Linked DNA regions of Homo sapiens: regions 2 and 3 are each linked to region 1. Evidence: promoter capture Hi-C in human tissues and cell types (Jung and others, 2019). All regions are on one chromosome and are shown on one strand. Each heading gives the region's core, a stretch centred on a gene start or on the middle of the fragment in contact. The rest is flanking DNA. Distances are from core to core; before and after follow the strand shown. Region 1 holds the start of ZHX1 (zinc fingers and homeoboxes 1). Region 2 holds the start of MIR6844 (microRNA 6844). Region 3 overlaps RNF139 (ring finger protein 139).

The links. The method cuts DNA at HindIII sites, captures the fragments that hold promoters and counts their contacts. A contact is called where the count stands out against the background at its distance.
Region 2: a fragment that was not itself captured here is called in contact with the fragment with the promoter of ZHX1 in region 1 in 1 of the 25 tissues and cell types used here (dorsolateral prefrontal cortex).
Region 3: a fragment that was not itself captured here is called in contact with the fragment with the promoter of ZHX1 in region 1 in 1 of the 25 tissues and cell types used here (dorsolateral prefrontal cortex).

The regions. Positions count from the first base shown.
Region 1 is chr8:123,271,510-123,276,472 of GRCh38, reverse strand. ZHX1 (zinc fingers and homeoboxes 1) reads left to right here and starts at 2,187. Exons shown (of 4, transcript NM_007222.5): 1 at 2,187-2,256. It overlaps ZHX1-C8orf76 (ZHX1-C8orf76 readthrough), which reads left to right and starts at 2,187. Exons shown (of 6, transcript NM_001204180.2): 1 at 2,187-2,256. RefSeq lists an enhancer at 837-956 and silencers at 1,437-2,126, 2,327-2,526, 2,563-2,930. The HindIII fragment of the contact is 11,288 bases long and covers 1-4,199 here.
Region 2 is chr8:124,506,175-124,511,137 of GRCh38, reverse strand. It overlaps TATDN1 (TatD DNase domain containing 1), which reads left to right. Exons shown (of 12, transcript NM_032026.4): 7 at 2,450-2,535; 8 at 2,624-2,664. It overlaps MIR6844 (microRNA 6844), which reads left to right and starts at 2,562; the gene lies at 2,562-2,623. The HindIII fragment of the contact is 3,251 bases long and covers 841-4,091 here.
Region 3 is chr8:124,480,507-124,485,469 of GRCh38, reverse strand. The region is part of intron 1 of RNF139 (ring finger protein 139); the gene reads right to left. Among named protein-coding and RNA genes, the nearest start is that of RNF139, 8.1 kb to the right of the region's middle. The HindIII fragment of the contact is 4,535 bases long and covers 819-4,963 here.

The sequences.
Region 1 (4,963 bases), core at 938-3,437:
CTGAGGCAGAAGAATGACTTGAACCCAGGAGGCAGAGGTTGCAGTGAGCCGAAATCGCACCATTTCACTCCAGCCTGGGCAACAGAGCGAGACTCCGTCTCAAAAACAACAACAACAACAACAACAAAAGAAAACTTGTCATTAACTGTGTAGACAAAAGAATGAATTTCTCTATTTGAAGCATTTCCAGACCTCTTCCTCGGTCTAAAGAGGTTCCCAGCGAGGGCAGTACTGCCCCTCAGGGGCATACTGAAATTTTGCCGGGACAGTTTTTGTTTTGCATTCTATTGGTGGCAGAGTATTTACATTGTGAAAACTCTGTTATTTTAAAATTTTTCTTGATATTAGTACATACAGTATTTTATTATGAACTACTTTCTCCTTTTTCACCTTTATTAGAACATTACATTGGTTTCTTGAAATTATTTGTAGAGATAGTTTGCATTAGGAATTTAACTCCAGAAGAGTAAAGCAGTGTTATATTTTTTGTTGTAAATACAGGGCATTGAATGTGGCAGGGTTGAATACCTTTGCTTATAAAATTAAGCCTTATCCTACACAAGTTTTAGGATTCCAGGATGAAACCTACAAATAAAAAGAATATTGTAGAACACTGATTTCAACGATCAGATTCCACGGCCAGGCGCGGTGGCTCACTCCTGTAATCCCAATACTTTGGGAGGCCGAGGCTGGCGGATCACTTGAGTTCAGGGGTTCAAGACCAGCCTGGCCAACATGGCGAAACCCTGTCTCTACCAAAAATACAAAAATTACCCCGGCGTTAGGTGACGGGCCCCTGTAATCCCAACTACTCGGGAGGCTGAGGCAGGAGAATCGCTTGAACCCGGGAGGCAGAGGTTGCAGTGAGCAGAGATCGCGCCATTTCACTTCAGCCTAAGCGACAACGCGAGACTCCGTCTCAAAAAAAAAAAAAAAATCAGACTTCCACTTGAAGCAATTGCATCTTTTAGGATTAATGTGGCTCAGCGGAGCTCTGCTGTGCTTTTAGGATTACTGTGGCTCAGCGGAGCTCTGCACAAAGGGTCCGCGACTGGGATGGGGGTGGGGAGTGAACGTCAAGGGGCCCAGGAGCGCTCGAGCGTCCAAGGCCCGGCGTGTGGAGCAGCTGGAGGGTGAGTCGCCGCTCTCCGCTTTGGTTCTGTTCCTCCACGTTCTGACCGCGGTGCGGGGGAAAGGGAAAGTGAGTAGGGAGGGGCGGAGACGCCGGGCAGTGTTCCCGAAACCCCTGGCCCTCGCTGGCCCCGCTGCGGGGCTGGTTCCCTGAAAGCCGACGGGATGTGAAGCCCTCGACTCGGACAGAAGCCTCTGGAAGAGCGAGTGGCGGTTCGCAGGGAGGAGGGCGGCTGAGGGGCAGAGGGCGGCTCCGCCTTGCCCGGCGGTTCTGAGTGCAGCTGAACTGAACTTTCGGTGTCAGCGGGTGGAGCTGCGGCCCGCGGAGGAGCGGGGTCCGAAGCGAGGAGAGGTGGAGCTGCCGCTGACAAGGGGCGCGGCGACTTCTGTCAGGGCGCTGGGCTCCCGGCCGGACTCGCAGCAGCCCCCCGAGGGGCGGGGCCTGGGTCGTGTCGCCCCAGGGGATGGGCGTGTGATGACAAGGGGCGTTTCAGTAGAAGCCAGCATGCTTACCTCTCACGATCCAGCAGTGACATTAGGAAGGCGGAGCGCAAGGAAGGCGGGGCTGCCTTCTGTGCTGACCCGAGAGAAGACCAGGCTTCAGTCCACAGCGGGCGGAGCGGTCGCAGGCAAAGGGCGGGGCCATTTCGAGCCCTGGGAAGGCGGGGCGTCTCCTGACAGGGGGCGGAGCTTCCGCAGTCTGGGGCGGGGCTTCTGTTGACAGGGGGGCGGGGCGCCTCCCTACCTCCCGCGGTGCGCCAATCCCCGGACTAGGGGCCGGGGTCGGACCCCAGTGGAGTAGCAGGGTCTGGGCGTGGAGAGCTCGGCGCCGCACGGGGTGGGGGCGCGCGGAGGACGCGCGCGCGGGAGGGCCCCGCCTTGGCCGGCTCTCTCCCTTCCCCCTCCGCCCCCGGACGGCCGCTGGGGCGCGCGCCTCTCCTCGCACCCCCACCCTGAGTCCCCACACTCCGCGGGGCCACCGAGCTGCTGAGGCCCCTTTGCGGGCCCGCCGAGCGGTTCCGGGTTTAGGGTTCACAGGTCAGAGTTGACTCCCTGAAAAGTGCAGCCGGTTTGAAATGCAAGATGGCGGCGGCGTGGCGCTGAGAGGCGCGGCGGCCCCTGCAGGTAGTGGCGCGAGCCGGCTCCGCGACCAGCGGGCCCGGAGACTCTGGGCTGCGGGTGGGAACTGGAGCGCAGAGTCCGCGGCCGGCACGGGAAAGGCGAGTAGCGCGGGGCCTGGCGGGAGGAGGGCAGCCTCACAGCAGAGACCCCTGGGGCTGAGCCCGCTCGCGGCGGCGGGTGGCGGGGTGGACCCGGCGTGGGGCGTCCGAGGGGGAGGGACGGGGCCTGCCTCGCGGCTGGGTAGTCGCCGCAGAGGGACAGACAGACCCACAGCCTCCCTCGCTCTTTTTGGGTGTCTCCGCCACCGAAAGAGCTTGGGGGCGGGGGGCTCTCTGGAGGGAACATCTCAGCCCCCTGCCTTGGTGAGGACCCAGCAACTTAGGATTGTTGAGAGGAGTGAAGACTGCGTATTCCCAGCGGAGGGCGCCGCCGGAGGGAGCACCCCAGTAATGTTGGGAGTCCTAGAGGAGGTCAGGAGCGCTGTCCTCCGGGGGCGTGTGGCTGCCTCGTGGGGGACCCAGTCTCCCTGAGAGTAAGGAGAGATTCTCTTGCTGGAGCTGAGCGCACTGACTGAGGTTGGAGCCCCAGCAAACCCTTCAGGAGAAGTCTTTACCTCCAGTTCAAGGAAGGCTATGCGCACCCGTTTCGGGGCCAGGCCATGTCCCAACTTTGGGAAAGACTGGGAGTTGAGTCCTTAAGAACCATATTACGATTGTGACGAAGCCCTGGGATTTAGGGAGAAGTTAATTAAAGAGGATGGTAGGGGCGTGGGGGTGTGGGGGCTGACCCATGGGAATCCTCCAAGCCTTAGGGCCCACAGTGAACAATCTACTAATACCTCAAGGGGTATAAAAGGCTGGGAAGGAGAGGTGTGAGAGGAACAAGGTCTAAGGGCAGGAAAGAAGAGCCCTGGCAGATCCCCTTTCCTTATATATTTACACCAAAGTTGGAGGTAAAGGGACTTGGCAATTCTTTGTTTTAGTACCTTTCCTGTCCTCTCTCCTCCGTGGGTAACTGTAAGGAAAGAGCATAGCCCCTGAGAAGGAAAAGATTCCATTTGATATCCTTAGCTTAGGTTAGTGAAGGATCCAGCAGCTGGGAAGGCGTCAATGAGAGACAGCAGGCGGGGGAATTAGAACAGAGACTAGGGATGAGAAAAGAGGAATACAGGGAAGATATCGGACAGAGCAGGAATTCCACAGCCCTTTTCTGTCAACTCAGCCCAGCTATTAGAAAAAAAAAAAAATGCGAAGAGCTAATATTTGAGAGAAAAATGTAAAGGCTGAGAGAGAAGTCGTGATGTGATTAGGTTGGGATTCCATGTAACTTAAGCAGTTCTCTTGGAGGTTAATGTGATAGCAGAAAAAGGAAAATCACAAAATTGGAAAATATACAGCGGTTCACGGTTAGGGAGGAAGAAGCAGTCTCCCCCCAGGAACAGTGAATATTTGGTTTGGGGTGTGTGTGTGTGTTGTGTGTATACATATATAAGAGCACTTTAGATTTGCTGGTGTTGGTCATTGTTTCTCAGTCTTTGTCTGAAAGCTTTAATTTGTGTTATATGGTGCTACATTAATTATCTTCGTTTCTGAAAAATTATTCTGAAAAAGTCATTTGTTTTTATGTCGGGAGCGAAGGTGAGCAGGAGTTGGTTTTAACAGGGAAATTGGCCCTAGTATACCCATCGATTATTTTAATTTCTAAAGTAGCAATTCTGACTCCTGATTTTAAGCAAAAGAAATGTGAGTGCTGCCAATGACAATAATGCGGTAACAGGACATAAAAGAAAAAGGGCTTTCATGAATATTTTTTTCCTTTTAGCTTTTCTCTCCTTTCCCAAAGCATGTTAAGGCTAAGCAGACTAATTTTATACAAAGTAAAATGTATAATCGTGGACCTTTTCGATATAAAATGATAGCATTTCAGTTATCAATGAATCTTTTTTGTTGAAGTACCTCTTCAGACGCCTTATTTGACAATCAGGATTAAAATGAGAAAGGGTAATACTTGGGTAACTGATGATAGTGATGATTCATAGAGATTTCTTGAACCATTCTTGTATTTTCGAAAGAGCTTTAACGTCTTCAATGGAAATGTTTTAAAGATACAGTTCAAATAGAAACTAGTTTAGAACTTTACATTTGGAACATTTTATGCACGTGTGCTGTTCTTTGGTTTCCTCAATGTTCATGTAGCTCTGGTTTTATATTCAATTCTGAACAGATTAGGCTGGGTGAACCAGAGAGGCATTAATGCCAGATGGTTTGAAAATATGCTAAATCCGAAAACATAAATGTGCCTGTGCTAGTGAACACTCATTAGTGGATTTCTTTCCTTTATAGCTAAGCTTATTATTTCACCGGATTTGGGGGGTAGTTCATGCATGATGTAGCAATTATTTCACCTTTAATGATAATTGTAAGTTCTTTTTTTTTCAATAATTGGGGACAAAGTTTTACAGTTATTAGCGAAATTAATAGCATAGGAGAGGTGGTTCATTTTGAAGATTTTTCTCCCTTTTGTATTATTATATTTTATATTAAGATGGAAAGGTTATATTATGATGTATTATATTTCTTATGCTAATTAAGCATAAAATGTGATATTTGAGACTTAGTTTGCTGTAAATTATAACTTAATACTTAAATGAAAATGCTTTTAAAATTATTAAAATGATCACAAATGTAGCTGAGGAAATAACCCTTTTATT
Region 2 (4,963 bases), core at 1,217-3,716, 1.2 Mb before region 1:
TTATGAACTTTAAAAAAATAATAAGTGAGTAAAACAGGCAGAGAAGTCTCTTAATAGATGCCAATTCCTACCCTGTAACTTATACAGTTATTTCTAGTTACCATGGCGGGTTTTTCTTCTCTAAAGATAATAGTCGTTTGATGTTCAGTACTAGTTATCCTCAATTTGTATCATTAGGAATAATTTTTTTTACCACATGGCTTCTTTATGATACGTAGCTAGCATGACTTCAGGGACCTTTCTTTTCTTGAATTATGTAAAATTCTGTGGGCCCATTGCTTGGGCTTCTGTTATTTTCTTTTTCTTTTTTCTTTGAGACAGGGTCTCACTCTGTCATCCAAGCTGGAGTGCAGTGGTGTGATCATGGCTCACCGCAGCCTTGACCTCGCCAGGCTCAAGCAATCCTCCCACCTCAGCCTCCCAAGAACTGAGACTGTAGGCATATGCTACCACACCTGGCTAATTCTTGTATTTTTTGTAGAGATGGGGTTTCACCATGTTGCCCAGGTTGGTCTCGAACTCCTGAGCTCAAGCAATCCACCCACCTCAGCCTCCCAAAGTGCTGGGATTACAGGCCTGAACCACACACCCAGCTGGCCTCTGTTATTTTCATAAACTGTACTTTTGCCTACATTCCTATAGGAAGCTAATTTTCCATCCGACCATTAGATACTGTGAATTTGTAGCTTGGTCATGTGGTTTGGTCCATGGAATTGTGTGTGGAAAAAATAACCAGTACAGCGTGGAGCAGTGCACACAATGAAGAGTACCGCCTGCTGTGTGTAGTCAGAGCCAAATATATTAGTAAAGTTGACATAATGACTAGTGCACACTTAACTGCTGACATTTGGTTTACTTTAGAGGTTATGGAAATAGTGACTGGTTATATTATCAAAATCTCTTTTTGTCCAAGTTGTCGTTAATATTTCCTACACTGCAAAATTTCAGCACTTTGTTAATGAAAGGAAAATATTTTTGCTTATTCTAACCCAGCAGAATCTGAAAAGGAGATTTTAAAACCCAAACATTTGGTAATACAGACATAGACGACCTATTTTAGGAAGACTATTTCTATTTTTTTAATTTTTAATTTTTTTTTTTTTTTTTGAGACAGAATGTTGCTCTCTCACCCAGGCTGGAGTGCAGTGGTACAATCTCAGCTCACTGCAACCTCTGACCCTGGGTTCAAGAGATTCTCATGCCTGCCGAATAGCTGGGATTACAGGCATGTGCCAACATGCCGGCTAATTTTTGTATATTTAGTAGAGACGAGGTTTCACCATGCTGGCCAGGCTGGTCTTGAACTCCTGCCCTTGAGTGATCCACCCGCCTTGGCCTCCCAAAGTGCTGGCATTACAGGTGTGAGCCACCACGCCCGGCCTGAAGACTGCTTCTTAAGAAGTACATTTCTATTTCTAATTTTAAAATTTAGCATTTTCAAGAGAGCAAAGGGGGTAAAATAGTCCTGCACATCAGGAAATATGATATAGAAAAATATAGCAAGAGAGGCTTAAGTTAAACAGAGAAATTGTTTCCCCAAATTAAAGTGCTTAGAAGAGGTAAGCACATTTAAGAAAATAATAAGCCACCTGTTATCCTGATTCAGTTGAACCTACCATTTGTGAGAACAAGGGGGAGCACTGTGTTGAAGTGAAAAGACAAACAGAATGAACATTCGTTGTATCCTCTGAATATTGTCATTATACTCCGGGACCAGAAGGAAGCTTCTTGAAAACGTAACAGGTTTTTGTCGTTTAGGCTGGGACTTGGAATTAGAGCAGTGAAGTTCTGTTCCAAGTTGGCCATGCCAGGTATTGTTATCTTGGACAAAGTACTACACCTCTCTGACACCAGCTTTTATACTCAGGTTATTTTGAGGATCAAATGAGACAATGGTATCTGGTACTTGGAAAAACCTTCTTATCAAGTACTCTTTAAGATATTCAGGGCTACCACTTTATCATGTAATTTTCTTTTTTTAATAGCATAATTGAGTTATTTGCTGTTTAGCAAATACTTAGATTTCATTTTTGAGGGAAACCTTGTTCATTTTGCCCAGTGGCAATAACTTCTTTTATAACAGCACATAAAAAACTGGTTGCAAAATGGAATAGATTAGCATGCAGTATGAAGCTCTCCTGGGCTTCTCGCTTGGTGAGTTGACTCCCACTGATGGTGCTCCCAGTGGCAAGGGGCCAGTGGTGTTACTTTCTGAAAATTAAAGGGCCCAGATAATTTTGTAAGCCCAGAAAATGAAGTATTTCTTTCCAGAAGTTGTAAGTTATAAAAGCCCTTTGATAAGCCTGATGTGCTTTAAATATTCATGATTTTTGTCCTGTAATTTCTAGAGAATTAAATACCTTTAATTTAAAAGCTCTTTTGACATCATTACCTTCCTCATGCTAAAATACAATTTGTAATGAGAATTTTTTTTTTTTGCATTATGCAGATATTTTGAAAAACAGTTTGAACTGTCAGAACAAACAAAATTACCAATGTTTCTTCATTGTCGAAACTCACATGCTGAATTTTTGGGTGAGTTAAAACCAAAGTCTCATTCAGAACTTAAGAATTTTGTAGAAATCAAGCTATTTGCTAAAAGTTCTTTGTTTTTAATTCACAGACATAATGAAAAGAAATAGAGATCGGTGTGTAGGGGGAGTGGTAAGTATAAAATAGTCATTTTTAATACAGGTTGAACATCTCTAATCCAAAAATCCAAAATACTCCCAAGTACAAAATGCTCCAAAATCTGAACCTTTTTAAGCACTGGCATGAGATAATGACACCTTTGCTTTCTGATTATTCATTGTACACAAATTTTGTTTCACGCACAAAATTATTTAAAATATTTACCTTCAGGGTGTGGTATAAGGTGTATGTGAAACATAAATGAATTTCATGTTTAGACTTGAGTCCCTTCCCAAAGATTTCTTTTTATGTATATGCAGATATTCCAAAATCTGAAAAAATCTGAAATATGAAACACTTTTGGTCCCACACACTTGGGATAAGGGATACTTAACATTTATGTGACACACAAAGCATCTTGGTTATTAAGGATGGCCCCTAATTCAGATGTCAACATTTAAATTTTTTTTAAAAAGGAATAACAAAGAAAAACATAGGAATTAGATAGAATTCAATAGAATTAGGAGCTTCTTTTCCCATCCTTTGAAAGACATGTAAATTTACTGTTGAATTTATGGACCAGGTGTGGCATAAACACAAATCAGTTTTAATTACAGTTCCTTTGTTCAAAGTACAAGAATGCGTACAGAATTCCATTCACAAGAAAACCCTGTGAAATTTTTTTTGTTTTTTGTGTGTGTTTTTTGTTTTTTTTTTTTTTTGGTTATTAAGAAAGGGTCTGGCTCTGTCATCCAGGCTGAAGTGCAGTGGCACAATCTCAGCTCACTGCAACCTCTGCTTCCCCGGGATCAAGCCATCCTCAGCCTCCCAAGTAGCTGGGACTACAGGCATGTGCCACCATGGCCAGCTAATTTTTTTGTATATTTTGTAGAGATGAAGTTTTACTATGTTGCCTAGGCTGATCTCGAACTCCTAAACTCAAGCAATCTGCCCACCCTGGCTTCCCAAAGTGTTGGGATTACAGGTGTGAGCCACTGTGCCTGGCCCTTGAATTCTACACATCCTAATGCTGTGCATGATATTCTTCGTCTCTTCTGTCAGCTGTTCTTTAATGTTCTTCCATCCAAATTTTGAGCAAATATAAACTAATTTTTATGTTTTGAAATATTTTACCATTTGTTTTAGGTTTGCCTTTCTCATTTCTTGTCCGCTGTATTCACCTACTATTCTGATCTAGAGAGTCATTCTCCTTTCTGTAATTTGCATTCTGCACTAAACACTTCTCTGATATAGCCATTTTAGTCATTATTCTGGAGACATTTCCCATAAATACTATCTGCTAACCACATACCTCCGATATCTATGGCAGTGATTTTTTTTTTTTTGAGATGGAGTCTCGCTCTGTCACCAGGCTGGAGTGGAGTGGCACAATCTCAGCTCACTGCAACCTCCGTCACCTGGGTTCAAGCAATTCTCCTGCCTCAGCCTCCCAAGTACCTGGGACTACAGGTGCACACCACCACGTCCAGCTAATTTTTGTATTTTTAGTAGAGACGGGGTTTCACCATGTTGGCCAGGATGGTCTCGATCTCTTGACCTCATGATCCTCCCCCCATCAGCCTCCCAAAGTGCTAGGATTACAGGCATGAGCCACCTTGCCCAGCCATGATTTTTAGTCTCTTCGATCATGGACTCCTTTGGAAACCTGCCTTAGAAAAATGCTCAGATATACATATATTCATATGCAATTTCAGGAGAGTGACTCAGTGAGTGACTGTGTCTAGCAAAAGAACTGTAATCCAGGTAGATTAAATCACAGTTACACTATGCCTGCTAAGGAAAGAGGAAATAGCACCAAGCACTTGCATTCCCATGCGGCCTGACGTTGACAGTTTTATGCGTATTCTCTAAGTTCAACCTCTGCCTCATCTATACTACTAGTAATATGTATGCATCCTGCATTGCTGTAATGTTAATATTACTGTGCACTTTTTTCCTGTTTGTACTAACTCTGTAATTTTTTCCTGTTTTTACTTACTCTGTAATTTATCCTGTAGGAACTGTACTTAAGAATTGAGAGGGGTTTTAGTTTTAACTAATGCCGTTGGGATTATTAGTGGTATTTATCCTAACCTTCAGACTCTACCTCTCAGCCCATTTGCTTTATTTCTTTTCTTTTTTTCTTTTTCTTTTTTTTTTTTTTTTTTTTTTGAGACAGAGCCTTGCTCTGTCACCCAGGCTGGAGTGCAATAGCACGATCTTGGCTCACCACAACTTCTGTCTTCCAAGTTCAAGCAATTCTTTTGCCTCAGCCTCCCGAGTAGCTGGGGCTACAGGCACGCACCACCACGCCTGGCTAATTTTTGTATTT
Region 3 (4,963 bases), core at 1,837-4,336, 1.2 Mb before region 1:
CATTTCATAATCATTAAAATTAATTTTAAAAATTGGGTTAAAAATAACCCAAATGGAAAACATTTATTCCTATTAAGTTTTAGATTCATTTATTATTGACTGACTGAGACAAGAGTCTCACTCTGTTGCCCAGGATGGAGTGCACTGGTGCAATCTCAGCTCACTGCAAATTCTGCCTCCCAGGCTCAAGCAATTCTCCTGCCCCAGCCTCCCAAGTAACTGGGATTACAGGCACCTGCCACCATGCCCAGCTAATTTTTGTATTTTTAGTAGAGACGGGGTTTCACCATGTTGGCCAGACTGGTCTCTAACTCCTGACGTCAAGTGATCCGCCCGCCTTGCCTCCCAAAGTGCTGGGATTACAGGCGTGAGCCACCGCACCCAGCCAAGTTTTAGATTTTTTTTTAAAGGATTCTTTAGGAAATCAAGTTCAAGTTTTATACTTCCACTTAATTCCTCCTTTTCTTCAAACTGTGAACTCATGCCAGCTCTTATTTCCTACTCCTTAACTCTGAGCATTCTCCAAAGGGTCCAAAATTCCATTTTTTTTCCTCCTAGTTTCCTTCGGACTTAGAAACATCTTCCAAGTTCCCTTTTTCCTGTATAATGCTGAATCTGTTTCTTAAAATAGTCAACTCTTTTTATTGTTCTTCACATTACAAAAGTAACACTCAGAAAACCAAGACATGTTTTTAGAAAATGGTAATTCTCCTTCCCCCACTCCATAGACACCATCTTTCTTTGTACTCTGACAGAAATGCATATTTTAAGTAGGATTACAATAAACACATTATTATCCAAGGTTTCAACAATGGGAATGACATCTGAATACTCACCTACTTTCACTCCTACAACTGCAAATCTCCAAAGTTCTGAAACTCGACTTGCCTTAAACTAGAATCAGCTTTTCCTTGTGATTTGCTATTTCAGTTGAAGGTACCATTATTGTTCTTTTAGAGATACTCCCAACCCAGCCCCACATGCTCAAACTTTGCCAATTAGTTGCCAAATTCTTCTAACACCTCTATCTCCCTTTTCTGTGACACCAATCAATCAGTCTGTCTCAAAAAACCCTCATCTTGTCCAAATCCATTTACAAGCCATCACCAAATTGCCTTTCTTCATTCCCTGCTCAAAATACTTCAGCGGCTCTGAAATTACTATCAACTAAAATCTACATTCTTGCTCCTGGCATTCAAGAACCCAATTTGCTTTACAGTAATATTCCTCCTAACACACACACATCAGTGCTCCAGACTTGGATTCCCCAAACACATTCCTTTCTCCACTATAGCTACAGCAGTGTTTACATTCTTTTTGCTTGGAATGATGTCCCCAACCTCCCAATCCCTGACTATTCAAATCCTACCTATCCTAGAAACCTACTTTCTTTGATAGAAACTGTTCTTTCAGCATACCTGCAGAACTTAGTGAAACATTTAACACTCATATATCACCTGATATTGTAGTCTGCAGTTATCTAAGTATAATCTACCCTATTACACATGTATCTATAACAGAAAGCAAAGATCCTACCCTGTCCATCTATGGATTCTACAATATTTTGTACAAAATAAGTACAATTAGTATTCATTAGGAAATGTCTGTCACATCTGGATGTTTTTAAAGGCAACCACAAAATATAGCCTGCTTGAAAAATAAAATCTATGTTTCAGACAATGAGAAACCATACCCTGGAGTACAGAAAAAGTGACAAACTCCAAATTAAAAATCCATCTTGGCTGGGTGTGGTGGCTCACAATGGTAATCCCAGCACTTTGGGAGGCTGAGGCGGGTGGATCACTTGAGGCCAGGAGTTCAAGACCATGTCAACATGGTGAAACCCTGTCTCTACCAAAAATATAAAAATATGCCAGGGTGGTAGCACGTGCCTGTACTCCCAGCTACTCAGGGGGTTGAGGTGGGAGAATCGCTTGAACCCGGGAGGCATTGCAGTTAGCTGAGATCGCACCACTGCATGCCAGCCTGGGTGACAGTGAGACCCTGTCTCAAAATACATAAATAAATAAATATTAAATAAAATAAAAATCCATCTATCCACCTTATTTCAGCAGGTAATCAAGACATTGCATATTATTACAGTAGACGCATTTCACAATCCACTGCACATATAAGCAAGGGCTAGTTCATTTAAGTGATGACTCTGTCCAGGGATTTAAAATGTATTCTGTGCCAAAATGTCAAGTCATCTGTGAAAAGGAAAACAAAAGGACACAATAAAGTAGAAGACATATAAACCTCTAAATACAAACCACCTGATTCCCCAAGAAAATGGGCCACTAATAATCCCCCAAAGAGTTGTGAGCTCAGAACAGGCTCTTTTAAATATATATATTTTTAATATATATATTTTTAAATATATATATATTTAAATAATATATATATATTTTTAATAGATATATTTTTAAATATATATATATTTAAATATATATATATATTTTTAATATATATATTTTTAAATATATATATATTTAAATAATATATATATATTATATATATATATATTTTTTTTTATATTTTTTTTAATGGAGTTTCGCTCCTGTTGCCCAGGCTGGAGTGCAATGGCGTGATCTTGGCTCACTGCAACCTCTGCCTCCCAGGTTCAAGCGATTCTTCTGCTTCAGCCTCCCAAGAAGCTGGGATTACAGGTATGTACCACCACTCCCAGCTAATTTTGCATTTTCAGTAGAGACAGGGTTTTTCCACGTTGGTCAGGCTGGTCTCAAACTCCTGACCTCAGGTGATCCACCCGCTTCGGCCTCCCAAACTACTGCGATTATAGGCGTGAGCCACTGCGCTCGGCCCTGAAAAGATTTTTTTATTAGAAACTTCTTCCATGGAAGGTAACAAGAAAATGGAATTAATTCAGCCTACCAGATGCCATATGTAATCTTACATTCTCTACATGGAAAACCACCTTATTTTCCTGAGACAAAACTTCAGAAACTTTAAAACAAATCTTCTAAGTTGGGTCAAAACCAAAACAAAATAACTCTAGTTCTACTTTATGCCACTTAGAGGGGAGAAAGTCAAGCAGGAACTGTAAATTATTTTTGTCAACTTGCTATTCACAAAGTAGTAAATTAATCTTCAGTAACTATTCATGAGCTTTGCCATAATTTTATAACTAATTTTTAAAATTCTAATAACTTTTTTCCTGAAGCTTGTTTTTACTACACACAAATGAAGAAATTATTTGGGTTTTAGAAACATTTCTAGTGAAAAAGTGCCATTTTGCTTTATGCAAATGTATCAAAGAAAAAAAGGGGAAGGCATCAGATAGACAAATAATGTAGTAAGACTACAACCTCAAAATTTGGATGTATCCCAGCAAGTAACAATCTGACAATACTCTATCCTGATTAAAATCACACCCCCCAAGATGTAATAGTGAGTTAACATTTCAAGAATAGTATATGTTTGTTTTAATTCCTACCCAAAGTTTGTAGGTATATGGGGTTCATAGATTTTCCTTTTATAGTCACGTTCCTACCTATGGAATTTGGGAAGAATCTGCTCTCATTTTAAAAACCAATATCCTAAGTAACAAGTCTCCAAAGTAATCATCTTTCTCATGGCCTTTGCAGAATAATATCAAAGTTTCACTGCATTTTTACATTAGACATGAAAGCCTTTCTTGGTATTTAAACTGTAGGTCTAAGAAAATATAAAAGTCCAGAGACAGTTTCTCATTAGGATTTGGAAGTGACTTGCACAAGTAATCAAGACTGTATATAAATGCTGCTTTATAAAAAATTTTGAGAACAGAATTTACTGAAATCACAACTCAGAGATCTCAGTCCAATTCTCCAGTGATTAAGAGAGTTCACTAGAGTTTTCAAGGTAGCCAAAAAGAGGCAGGTATCCAAATCAATTCAGGAACTTTGAAACTATATATGAACTCAACTCATGAAAGAGTTCAGGCCTTTTCAATTTGGATTACCAAAAACAGGCAAATAAAAACAAAAGAAAAAATAAAAACTTACTATACATGTTACATAACAAAGTGTTTCACTCTTTTATGTGTAAAGTCTATTCATACCCTTACCCTCTTTTGGAAACTTATGACTAAAAATCAGGGTACAAAACATAATATTTACAATTCTCCAAGTACCCGAAATACCTCTAAAACAAAAAGCAACCTGTGGAAAAACATTTCAATACCTGACAGAATAAATATGGAAAAGCACAGAAATAAATGTTACTACTACCTTACTCCCAAGGGAGCCTTCCGCAATGAAGTTTACAACAAAGTGTCTTGAAATGTTGTTAATCTGTTGGTATACTTGATAAATTATAAAGAAAACATTTCTATTGGATTCTCATTTTAGGTTGAAAAAAAACCTGGTATTCTAAGTATTAACACAAAATTAAACTTTTGCTTTTAAACTAAACTTATAATAAGTATGCTTTTATCAAAAATATATGAACATGGATTTTAAAAAGCCAAACCCTACAGAGAGGTGTTAAATGAAGAGTTAAAGCAAGTTTTTCTAGTTTGTCTTTCCCATCTGTGATATCATAAAAAAAATATTAATATTTGGTCTTTGTCCCATTTTCTGACATAGCTTCTAAAATCCTTGGAATCTCTGGAGTGATGACTGTTTTGTACAATAATCAGATGACTGGTGCCTGGGGGCCCCTAGATAGCTTCAGGATGGGGGCTAGGTAGCCAGGGGAATCAGCCCAGTGATTAAGGGTTATAACTTTGATTCCTACCCCCAGCCGCCACTTCTGGGAAGAAAGAAGCTGAAACTTGAGTCCATAAACCAATGACTAGTGATCTAATCAATCTTGCCTATTTAATGAACTTCCATAGAAGCCCAAAAGGACTGAGTTCTGTGAGCTCTCAGATAGCTGAACACTGAAGCTCCACGCCCCTTCTCCTCTTCTCTCCTTCTTTGTCTCACCTTGTACATCTCCTTCCATCGGGTTAATTCAT